2 separate regions of the Homo sapiens genome follow, and region 2 is linked to region 1. The links are contacts of gene promoters, found by promoter capture Hi-C in blood cells and fetal thymus (Javierre and others, 2016). All regions are on one chromosome and are shown on one strand. Each heading gives the region's core, a stretch centred on a gene start or on the middle of the fragment in contact. The rest is flanking DNA. Distances are from core to core; before and after follow the strand shown. Region 1 holds the start of SNX33 (sorting nexin 33). Region 2 overlaps SIN3A (SIN3 transcription regulator family member A).

What was found. Contacts are between HindIII fragments. The CHiCAGO score rates a contact against its expected background, and 5 or more counts as called.
Region 2: a fragment that was not itself captured here is called in contact with the fragment with the promoter of SNX33 in region 1 in 5 of 17 cell types (naive CD4 T cells, naive CD8 T cells, total CD4 T cells and 2 more); the score reaches 6.2 in naive CD4 T cells.

The regions. Positions count from the first base shown.
Region 1 is chr15:75,645,442-75,649,966 of GRCh38, reverse strand. It overlaps SNX33 (sorting nexin 33), which reads right to left and starts at 2,055. Exons shown (of 2, transcript NM_153271.2): 1 at 1-2,055. The coding sequence starts at 864. RefSeq lists an enhancer at 1,580-2,271 and a silencer at 1,897-2,436. The HindIII fragment of the contact is 30,102 bases long and covers 1-3,415 here.
Region 2 is chr15:75,378,883-75,383,407 of GRCh38, reverse strand. It overlaps SIN3A (SIN3 transcription regulator family member A), which reads left to right. Exons shown (of 21, transcript NM_001145358.2): 18 at 1,703-1,795; 19 at 2,685-2,779. Among named protein-coding and RNA genes, the nearest start is that of MAN2C1, 13 kb to the right of the region's middle. The HindIII fragment of the contact is 2,034 bases long and covers 1,136-3,169 here.

The DNA of each region.
Region 1 (4,525 bases), core at 806-3,305:
GTGGGGCACCGAGATGACAGTGAACTTGTGTAGCAGGCGGTTATAGAGCCAGTCAAAGTGTTTGTAGCGCCGGTAGACGGGTGAGGCAGCATGGGTGGGTGTGAGCTTGTAGGAGATGTAGCTTTTGATGCCCTTGAATTTGGTCTGTTTTGTGGGGTCCTCCACAGAGCAGGCAAATGGGTGGGGATTGGCCTTCCACTGGGGGCCACGAGGGCCCATTTCAATGGAGTATGTCTCAGCGATCTTGGCCATCATGGGCACATCACCCAGGATGAAGGCCTCCACTCCAGAACGCACAAAGCATGAGAAACGGTTGAGGTTACGGCCCACCACACTGCCTCGCTTGGCAGATGCCAGGCTGTCCTGCCGCTCCAGTGGTGGCTTGGGCCGGAAGGCCATGTGCTGGCTGGGGTAGGCACCAGGGTAGGAGAGGTTGAGGGGAGGGTGCCCGTTGGTGCCCAGCCCACCAGCCCGTGGCTCCTCCACCACTGTGCATCCGTCGTCCCAGTCATCCCAGTCATCATCATCATCCTCCTCAAAGCTACCCTGGTTTGAGAGGAAGCCACTGCCCCCACCACTCCTAGCTGGGCTGGCCACACTGGGGCTGTTGTACAAGCTCACCTGGGCTCCGGGAGAGCCTGCAGGGCTGCTGGAGTAGTCAGCATGGTTGGTGCTGATGCCAGAACGGACGATCTCCACATAAGAGGCAGGAAAGAGCCCTGTCTCCCCACGGCTGTTCTGGCCCTGCAGCCAGCCATCCAGTGAGGTCTCGCTAAAGATGACCAGGTCCTCATCCTGCTGGATGCTGATTTCCTCCTTGTTCTCACTGTGAAAGTCATAGAGGGCTCGGCCTTTCAGTGCCATGGCTGGGCTGGGTGGTATAGAAAGATGGGAAGGAGAGGGTCCTGCCCAGACCGGGGATGCTCACAAGGCAGTCCAAGAATGCACTCGCAGCTGAATGGCGCTTACACAGTTCAATCTCTCAGGTCCTAAGGTGGGGTCTCAGCACCCACAGATGCTGTCCAGTCTCCCCCTCTTCAAAGCAATGTCCATGGCCCAGAAACTGCCCTATCAGGTCTCCGGGCATATGCTTGTGAGCAGGGAGGGCTCATGTCCACAGTCTCCTCCTCCCTTAGCAGCCTCTGGGGGGTTAGAGGGGAATCTCTCCTAACTCCTACTCCCAGAAGAAAAGTCAAGTGACCTGGAGAAATCTGCCCTGCGAGGGGAAAAATTCGACACTTTCCACTGGAACAACGTTCTAAAATAGAAGAGACTCACTCTGAAACCACCATTCCAGAAACCCGGGCAGGGCTCGGCTGTCCCTCTGGCTCCCAGATTCTTTTGGCGGCTCTCGCTTTGGGAGGCTCTCACATTCCTCTGCAGATCTGCCCCTTCCTCCTTCCTCCTCTTGCTCCTGGGCCACTGGGTTTTCAAAAATCCGGAAAATCCAAGAGGGGCAAGGAGAAAAGCAGCAGCCGCCTGAATCGAGTCCAAGGGTGGATGTGTCCGGCTTCACAACGAGCCAGGCCGGGAAAACAAGGACTGAGGCTTACACAACAGGCCGCCAACTCTTCGACCCCGGCTGCGCAGCCGGAGCCCCCGCCGGCTCGGGCGCCCTCTCCCCGCCCCAGAAGTGGCCAGCCCCAACCCCGGAGGAAGGAGGGGGCGCGACGAGGCTGTCGGGCGACTTCTAGCCACTCGCTGAGTGGTCTCTTTTGTTTGCCTAATTCCTCAGCAGTTTCTGAGCCTGACGCTGACCCTGCTCTGAATCCCAGGAACCCCGTCCAAAGGTAACCCCAGCAGAAACCGGTTCCTCACCCGGGACTTACGACCCCCGATCACCACCCTCGCGTGCACGCACACACTCAACAGTTTGGAGTTTGGAGAGTGAGCTCCGGCGAGCAGATGGCGCGGCCAGCCGTCTGTCCGTCCGTCCTCCTCTCCGCCCTGCGGGGCCCGGCCAGTGGGGGGCGGGCTGCGCCCCCAGCCTGCCTTCCCCGGCGCTCGCAGACCCTCCGCTCCGCCAGCGAGAAGGCAGCTCCAAAACAAAAAGGCGATTCCGGGAGGTGGCGTCCTGAGGAAGGAGGGGATCGCCAAAGGGGAGGTGAGGGGTGGGGAGAGGGAGGAGGGAGGGGGAAGCAGGCTGGAGAATCGGGCAAACTCCGCTGCACTTCCGTGCGTCCCGGCGGGGCAGGGACGGCCAGCTCCGCCCTCCCGCGGGCCCGGGGCGCTGCAGCCGAGCCCCCGCCTACTCCTCCGCGCGGCTTCCCAGCTGGCCAGCGCCCTCGCTCGCTGGCGCTCAGTCCGGGAGGCGAGAGGGAGGAAACGACCCGGGAACGAGGGGGCCCGAGAGCCTCCGGGGCTGGTCCCTGGGACCGCCACCTCCCCTCCTCTCCCTCCGCCTGTCCGCCCTCGCCGGGAGACACCTCACGCCCCCGTGGTTGGAGCGCCCGGCGGGGGAGCTTGCCAGCTGCCGCTGCCTCGCTTCCTGGACTCCGTCATCCTCCTGCCTTTTCCGTGACGCAAATGGAGTAAAACTCCGAAAGTTTGCAAAGCGTGGGGCTGCAAGGAGCACCGCGCCAGAGCCAGGATCGGGAGATCGGGGTGGGGGGAGGGGGGTGCGTGGAAAGCCGCCGCGCCAGCTGGGGTTGGGGAGCAGAGTCGCGGACTCGCCTTCCCACCTTCCCATTCCCCACTCCTGCTCCGCAGGGACGGGTCGTGGCGCAGCTCAGAGATTGTTTTCCGGAGGAACAGAAACGGCCTGCGCGTTCCAGGCGTCTGACCTAAGATACCGAGAGCTGCGGGTGCAGCACCCTAGCCAGACAGGGCGACCCTGCCCTGGGCGACTAGCTTGGAAGGAGGGAAAGACACTACTCTACATCTGCAGCGACAGGGAACAAGTCTAGGTGCCACCCGGTTCCGTGTTGCTTAGTACAGCAGCGGGGACTGGATGTTCTGTGCTAGCCAGCGGCAGCAAGGAGAGAAGTGGTCAGGTAGAGAATCTTCGAGAAGAGGCAAGTGGGATCTGACCCTCGGTCAGCATATCGGGAACACTTTGGGCATTGATTCTGCTAGGCACTGTGCTGGGCACTGGGGAGTAGTACACCACAAGGCAGTCGGGGTTTCTATCCTGGGGGGCTTACAGTCCACCCTCTCTTGTCTTTAATCAATCCATTCTGTCTCAGTCATTCATTCAGCCAAGTCATGCACTCAAGAAACATTAACTGAGTACCTACTCTGCACCAGGCCCCTGAGCTACAAAGACAAATAAGACATTATCCTTATTTTCCAAAAGCTCAGATATGTTGTGACAAGTAGACAAATGCTCCCTGCCCAGTGTGACTAGTTAGTGCCATGAAAAGTGCACATGAGGGTACCTACCCCAGCCTGGGTAGAGCAAGGATCAAGGAAAGCTTCCTGAAGGAGGAAGTGCCTAAGATGAGGCAAAGGCTTCAGGAGGACTCCCTTTCCTGGCTATACCCTGGAGTCTTGTCTACCCTGTCTAGCTAGATCTTCCCTTCATTCTCTCCCTAGTCACTTATTGCAGATTAACTGGTACAAGGTAGTTCTGCTAAAGATGGATACCTTTGGCTGTTTTGAGGGACATGGTTCCCAGACCTCTGGCTCCAAAACCCAGTTTCACTGGTTCAGTGAGTGGATCCGACTCCCTTCGCAGGTCTGGCATTTGACCAGAATAAAGGCCTATGTACAAACCCCAGAAGGCTAGGTATCAATTTGCACAGAGAAATAAAACTGTCAAGCAGAACTGAATTTCTGCATCAATAGATCAAGGCAGTTTGGGCTACCCCTTGGGAAGCCCAGTTACCAGAAAGTTAGCTCAGTGAGTCTGGAACCCCCAAGAGGGGAAAGGGTATGAGGAGTCTCTCAGTCAAGTAACCTTAAAACCTTGCTTCCTGTCATGGGGCAGCCTTCATTCTAAAGACAGTTCGTCCTAGCATCTCTAAGACAGAATATACGTTTTCCCCACGTGCTTTTAGGACCCCCCCCTTCCCTGTGATCTATCTTCTGTCCACATAGCCTTTCTCCAAACTGAGTTTAACAATAGCATCAGGGCTGGGTGCAGTGGCTCACACCTGTAATCCCAGCACTTTGGGAGGCCAAGGCAGGTGGATTACTTGAGCTCAGGAGTTCGAGACCAGCTTGGCCAACATGGCGAAACCCCATCTCTACTAAAAATACAAAAAATTAGCTGGGCGTGATGGCGCATGCCTGTAATCCCAGCTACTCAGGAGGCTGAGGTAGAAGAATTGCTTGAACCCAGGAGGCAGAGGTTGCAGTGAGCCGAGATTGTGCCACTGCACTCTAGCCTGGTGATAGAGCAAGACTCCAATCTCAAAAAAAAAAAAAAAAAGATAGCATCAGCCAGGTGAGGTGGCCAGGAGTGAGAGGCTGCAGTGAGCCAAGATGGTGCCATTGTATATGTCATTATACTCCAGCCTGGGGGACAGATCGAGACGCTGTCTCACAAAAAAAAAAAAAAAGCAAAAAAAAGCATCTACTTCCT
Region 2 (4,525 bases), core at 903-3,402, 270 kb after region 1:
AAGTCACCTTAGAATTCTTTCCTGAAATTATCATTGATGACATCTCTATGATTCTAAACTTCTCTATGCTTGAGTATATATTTTGAAAGAGTTTATACTGGACAAAATGGTCTTTAACTTTTTTTTTTTTTTTTTTAAGACAGGGACACACACTGTTGCCCAGGCTGGAGTGCAGTGGCGCAATCTTGGTTCACTGCAACCTCTGCCTCCTGAGTTCAAGTGATTCTCACACGTCAGCCACCCTAGTAGCTGGGATTACAGTCATGTACCACTATGTCCAGCTAATTTTTTTTTTTTTCCCGAGATGGAGGCTCACTCTTGTTGTCCAGGTTGTCCAGGTTGTCCAGGCTTGGAGTGCAGTGGTGCTATTTCAGCTCACTGCAACCTCCGCCTCCTGGGTTCAAGCAGTTCTCCTGCCTCGGCCTCCTGAGTAGCTGGGATTACAGACACGTGCCACCATGGCCAGCTTGTGTGGGTGTGTGTGTTTAGTAGAGACAGGGTTTCACCATGTTGGTCAGGCTGGTCTTGAACTCCTGAGCTCAGGTGATCTGCCCTCCTTGGCCTCCCAAAGTGCTGGGATTACAGGCATGAGCCACTGCACCCGGTCTAATTTTTGTATTTTTAGTAGAGATGTGGTTTCACCATGTTGGGCAGGCTTGTCTCAAACTCCTGGCCTCAAGTGATCTGCCCGCCTTAGCCTCCCAAAGTGCTGGGATTACAGGTGTGAGCCACTGCATCTGACCGGAAATGGTCTTTAATGTATTTTTGCTCAATTAACAACACTTCTGGGTCTTTATTGTCTTTTTTATGGCTATTTGATATTCACTTTTTAGAGAATTAATGCCTGTATTGGTGGACATTTAGGTTGTTTCCAATTTTTCACCATTATAATGGATAATTATAAAAGCAAATAGTTGGAAACATCCTAGACGTCCAACCCACTATGGGGACTGGTTAATGACATCCTGTTATGAATACTGGAGACAGATTTTGCAATTCTTAAATTATAAATTGTGAAAATGCAGGGTCTGCCCCCACCCCGAAATCTATTTTGGAAATAACTGTATTTGTGTGTGTATATATTATGTTATTGTCAGGTTGTAAGCTTTACTAGCAGAGAGCAATTTTTAAAGCTTTAAAAGAACACTGAGCTAGATCTAGCTTCTGGCTCTGCATGTATATTGATTAGTGGTGTGCCTTGAGAAACCAGAACTCTTCTGAATTTCAGTTTTGTCTCTGTGTAAAATGAAGAAGGTTGAAATAAAAAATTCTCAGGTTTCCTTCCAGGCTCTGACCTTCTCCATGTGATTCTGATAGTTACCTCCTCTATTACGTCCTAGAAGTGGGATTACCAATGGACAGAGCATTGACATTTTGTGGTTCTGGCTACATGTGCCATATTTCTTTCTGACAAAATATTTGTTTTGTAAAACATTCTTACTGACATTGATTATTATTTTAGCGAATTCTAGAAGTTTGAAACATGAAATAGTACCTTTTGCTTTAATATATTTCATTTTACTTGTAGTAAGTGTAGACTTTTGCCTTTATCACTGGCCACCCAAGATCTAGTATCTTCCTCATCTCTTCAGTTGGAGCAAAGTTTACTAAGTTTATTGCCTCTGCACCTCTCATTCCTTGAGAAGATAGATTACAGCTACAGAGACGGTCTTTTGTTTACGCTTAGGTTTCTTATTTGCAGCTTATGTTTATTCAGAGCCAAGGCCAGGTCCAGCTGACTATTGAGCTTCTGGACACAGAAGAGGAGAATTCGGATGACCCTGTGGAAGCAGAGGTATGAGCAAGTACATCACAGACCCCAGGTGCCAAGCAGAGCTGGCGTGCCTTGAGAGTCTGTCCAGTGACCCTGTCTGCCAAAAGGCCAAGGCACCTCAGGCCTGTTTAAGGGTCAGGACCTGGATGCTTAAAGTACAAGTCAATCCAGCCATGTCTTCAGCTGAAGAGACGGGCTGCCTGGTTATAGATGTTAACCTCATCTTGCACTTAGTAAAGCTATCTCCTCTAAGGAAGTCTTATGGTTGGCAGCTTTCCTGTTTTTTCCTAAAGTATAAAAAACAACAAATGAGGTCTTTCTCATGTCATCTTGATTCTTTGTGTCATGTTTACTTTTTATTGGACTGATAAAGTCCAGAGTTTTCAACCCCTGAATAGACAGGTGTGATTATCATAGTTGGTTATGGCAGATAATGTACACAGGAGATGCAGGCCATATGTATGATGTTGGGGGGGGTCGTGTGGGATGACTTGTTTTGGTGGGAATGTTGGCTTGTTGGCAGATCTTTTTTTTTTTTTTTTTTTTTAAGCGATGTCAGAAATCTAGATTGTAATGTGAAGGAAACTTTCACACATTTGCCACTATAAATTTTGTTCTTTAACAAAATGCTCTGTGGGGAAATGAAACTTGTCAGTGAGCCAGCTTCTACCTGTTTATGACTTCTCATAACCTTAGCACCTCAGAAACTTAGCAGTATTGCTGGCTAACAGAATTTTTAATCCGTGTTCCAATACCTACTAACAATCATGTCTTTATAGAAAGGGACTTTTTTGATCTTGAAATTTATGAATTCGGGGCATTGTAATCATAGAATTTACTAGAGTGCCCAATGCATTAGGAGCTGTTTTTGTGATTTCCTTCCACCTGTATTTTGTGTTTGCCATCTTAGCGCTGGTCAGACTACGTGGAGCGATACATGAATTCAGATACTACCTCGCCTGAGCTTCGTGAACATCTAGCACAGAAACCAGTATTTCTCCCCAGGTGAGTGAGCCATGTCATCTGTCAGCAGTCCATACTGTGCATGATTGAGGAATGGAGAGTTAAATGACTTTCACGTTCTTGGCCTTCACATATTTTATTCATTTGTTCTATCTGCTGGGGATGCTAATTCAAGGTTTTATATGGCTGTCACAACATGAGCTTACCTGGAGCATGTGTCAAAGCATCTGGGAGGTGAGAGTTGTAGAGAATCAACAATAACCTCCGTACTTTGGATGGGAATGTGTGTCAGAGTCTCCATGGTTCGATGGAAGAGGACTCACAGGACTCTGCATATAGTCAGACTGATTTAGTACAGCGAGAAGATGCAAAGCAGAATCAGCAAAGCGAAAAGGTGCCTGTGGCAAAGCTGGAGGAAGCCAGGCTCAAGCTTCCTAGAATCCTCTCCCAGTGGAGTCACACAGGACACTCTTAATTCTTCCAACAATGAATGTGACAACACATGCAAAATGCTGTCTACCAGGGCAGCTCATTAGAGACTCTGTGCCAGGATTTTTATTGAGATGTAGTCATCTAGGCACTGTATGCCTAGCATGTACCAAAATCCCAAACTCTCAGAAAGAAAGCACATTTTCAGCATAAGCTATAGAGTTTGTACAAATAGTTTAGGTACAGTGAGACACTTATATGAGTTAAGGAATGGTAGAACATTGCCCAAAATCCAAGATCCCAGCCCCCAGCCAAGGGCCAACTTTTATAAGCAGGCTTTTCAAAGAATAGCAATCTTAGGCCTGCTACATTAACTCTTTTCTGCACAGAATTTTAAAAATGTTCCCTCTGTGTATAGGCAGATTGTGATACTGATCCTCCAAGTATATGAAAACAGTTTAAGAAGTATAAAATGGGTAGAATGGCTTTCTTCCTTCCTAAAAGTTTTGAATTGAAATCTTATGTCTTAGGTTTCCAAGAAAGTATCATCCCAGTGTTATTAGACTTATTGAGTCCTAATGAGAACATGGGAAAAGAGATACCAGCAAAAAGGGCCCTGCCGGGTTCTCCATTCATTGAATCATTTAACACATTTGAGCAGTTGCTCTGTGTCAGGTTCCTCTCAACAAAACAGGCTCCATGCTAATAACATACTACAATAAACCTGTCATCATGTGTCTCTCACCATGATATGAGGAAGGAGGCACATTTATGTACTGTGAGGAAAAGGAAATTGATATAATCGTTCTGGTGGCAGGGTAGTTGAAGTGTATGGAATCTTCCCTCCAGAATTTCAGTTTCTAATGATTTGTCTGACAGCTAAGGGGCTCATCTTATTGGCCTTGAGACCCCTTACACTCTTAGAGCATGAGTACTCCAAAAAGCTTTTGTTTATATGGATTATACTAGTAATATTTACCAAGTTAGAAATAAAAACAAAGAAATGTTTTCAATCTTTAATTCATTTGAAAAATAACAATATTGGGCTGGGCGCAGTGGCTCACGCCTGTAACTCCAGCACTTTGGGAGGCCGAGGCTGTGGATCACGAGATCAGGAGATCGAGACCATCCTGGCTAACACAGTGAAACCCTGTCTCTACTAAAAATACAGAAAATTAGCTGGGCATGGTGGCAGGCGCCTGTAGTCCAAGCTACTCGGGAGGCTGAGGCAGGAGAATTGCTTGAACCGGAAGGCGGAGGTTGCAGTGAGTGGAGATCGCACCACGGCACTCCAGCCTGGGTGACCGAGTGAGACTCTGCCTCAAAAATAAAATATATATATATATATATATATCCCTA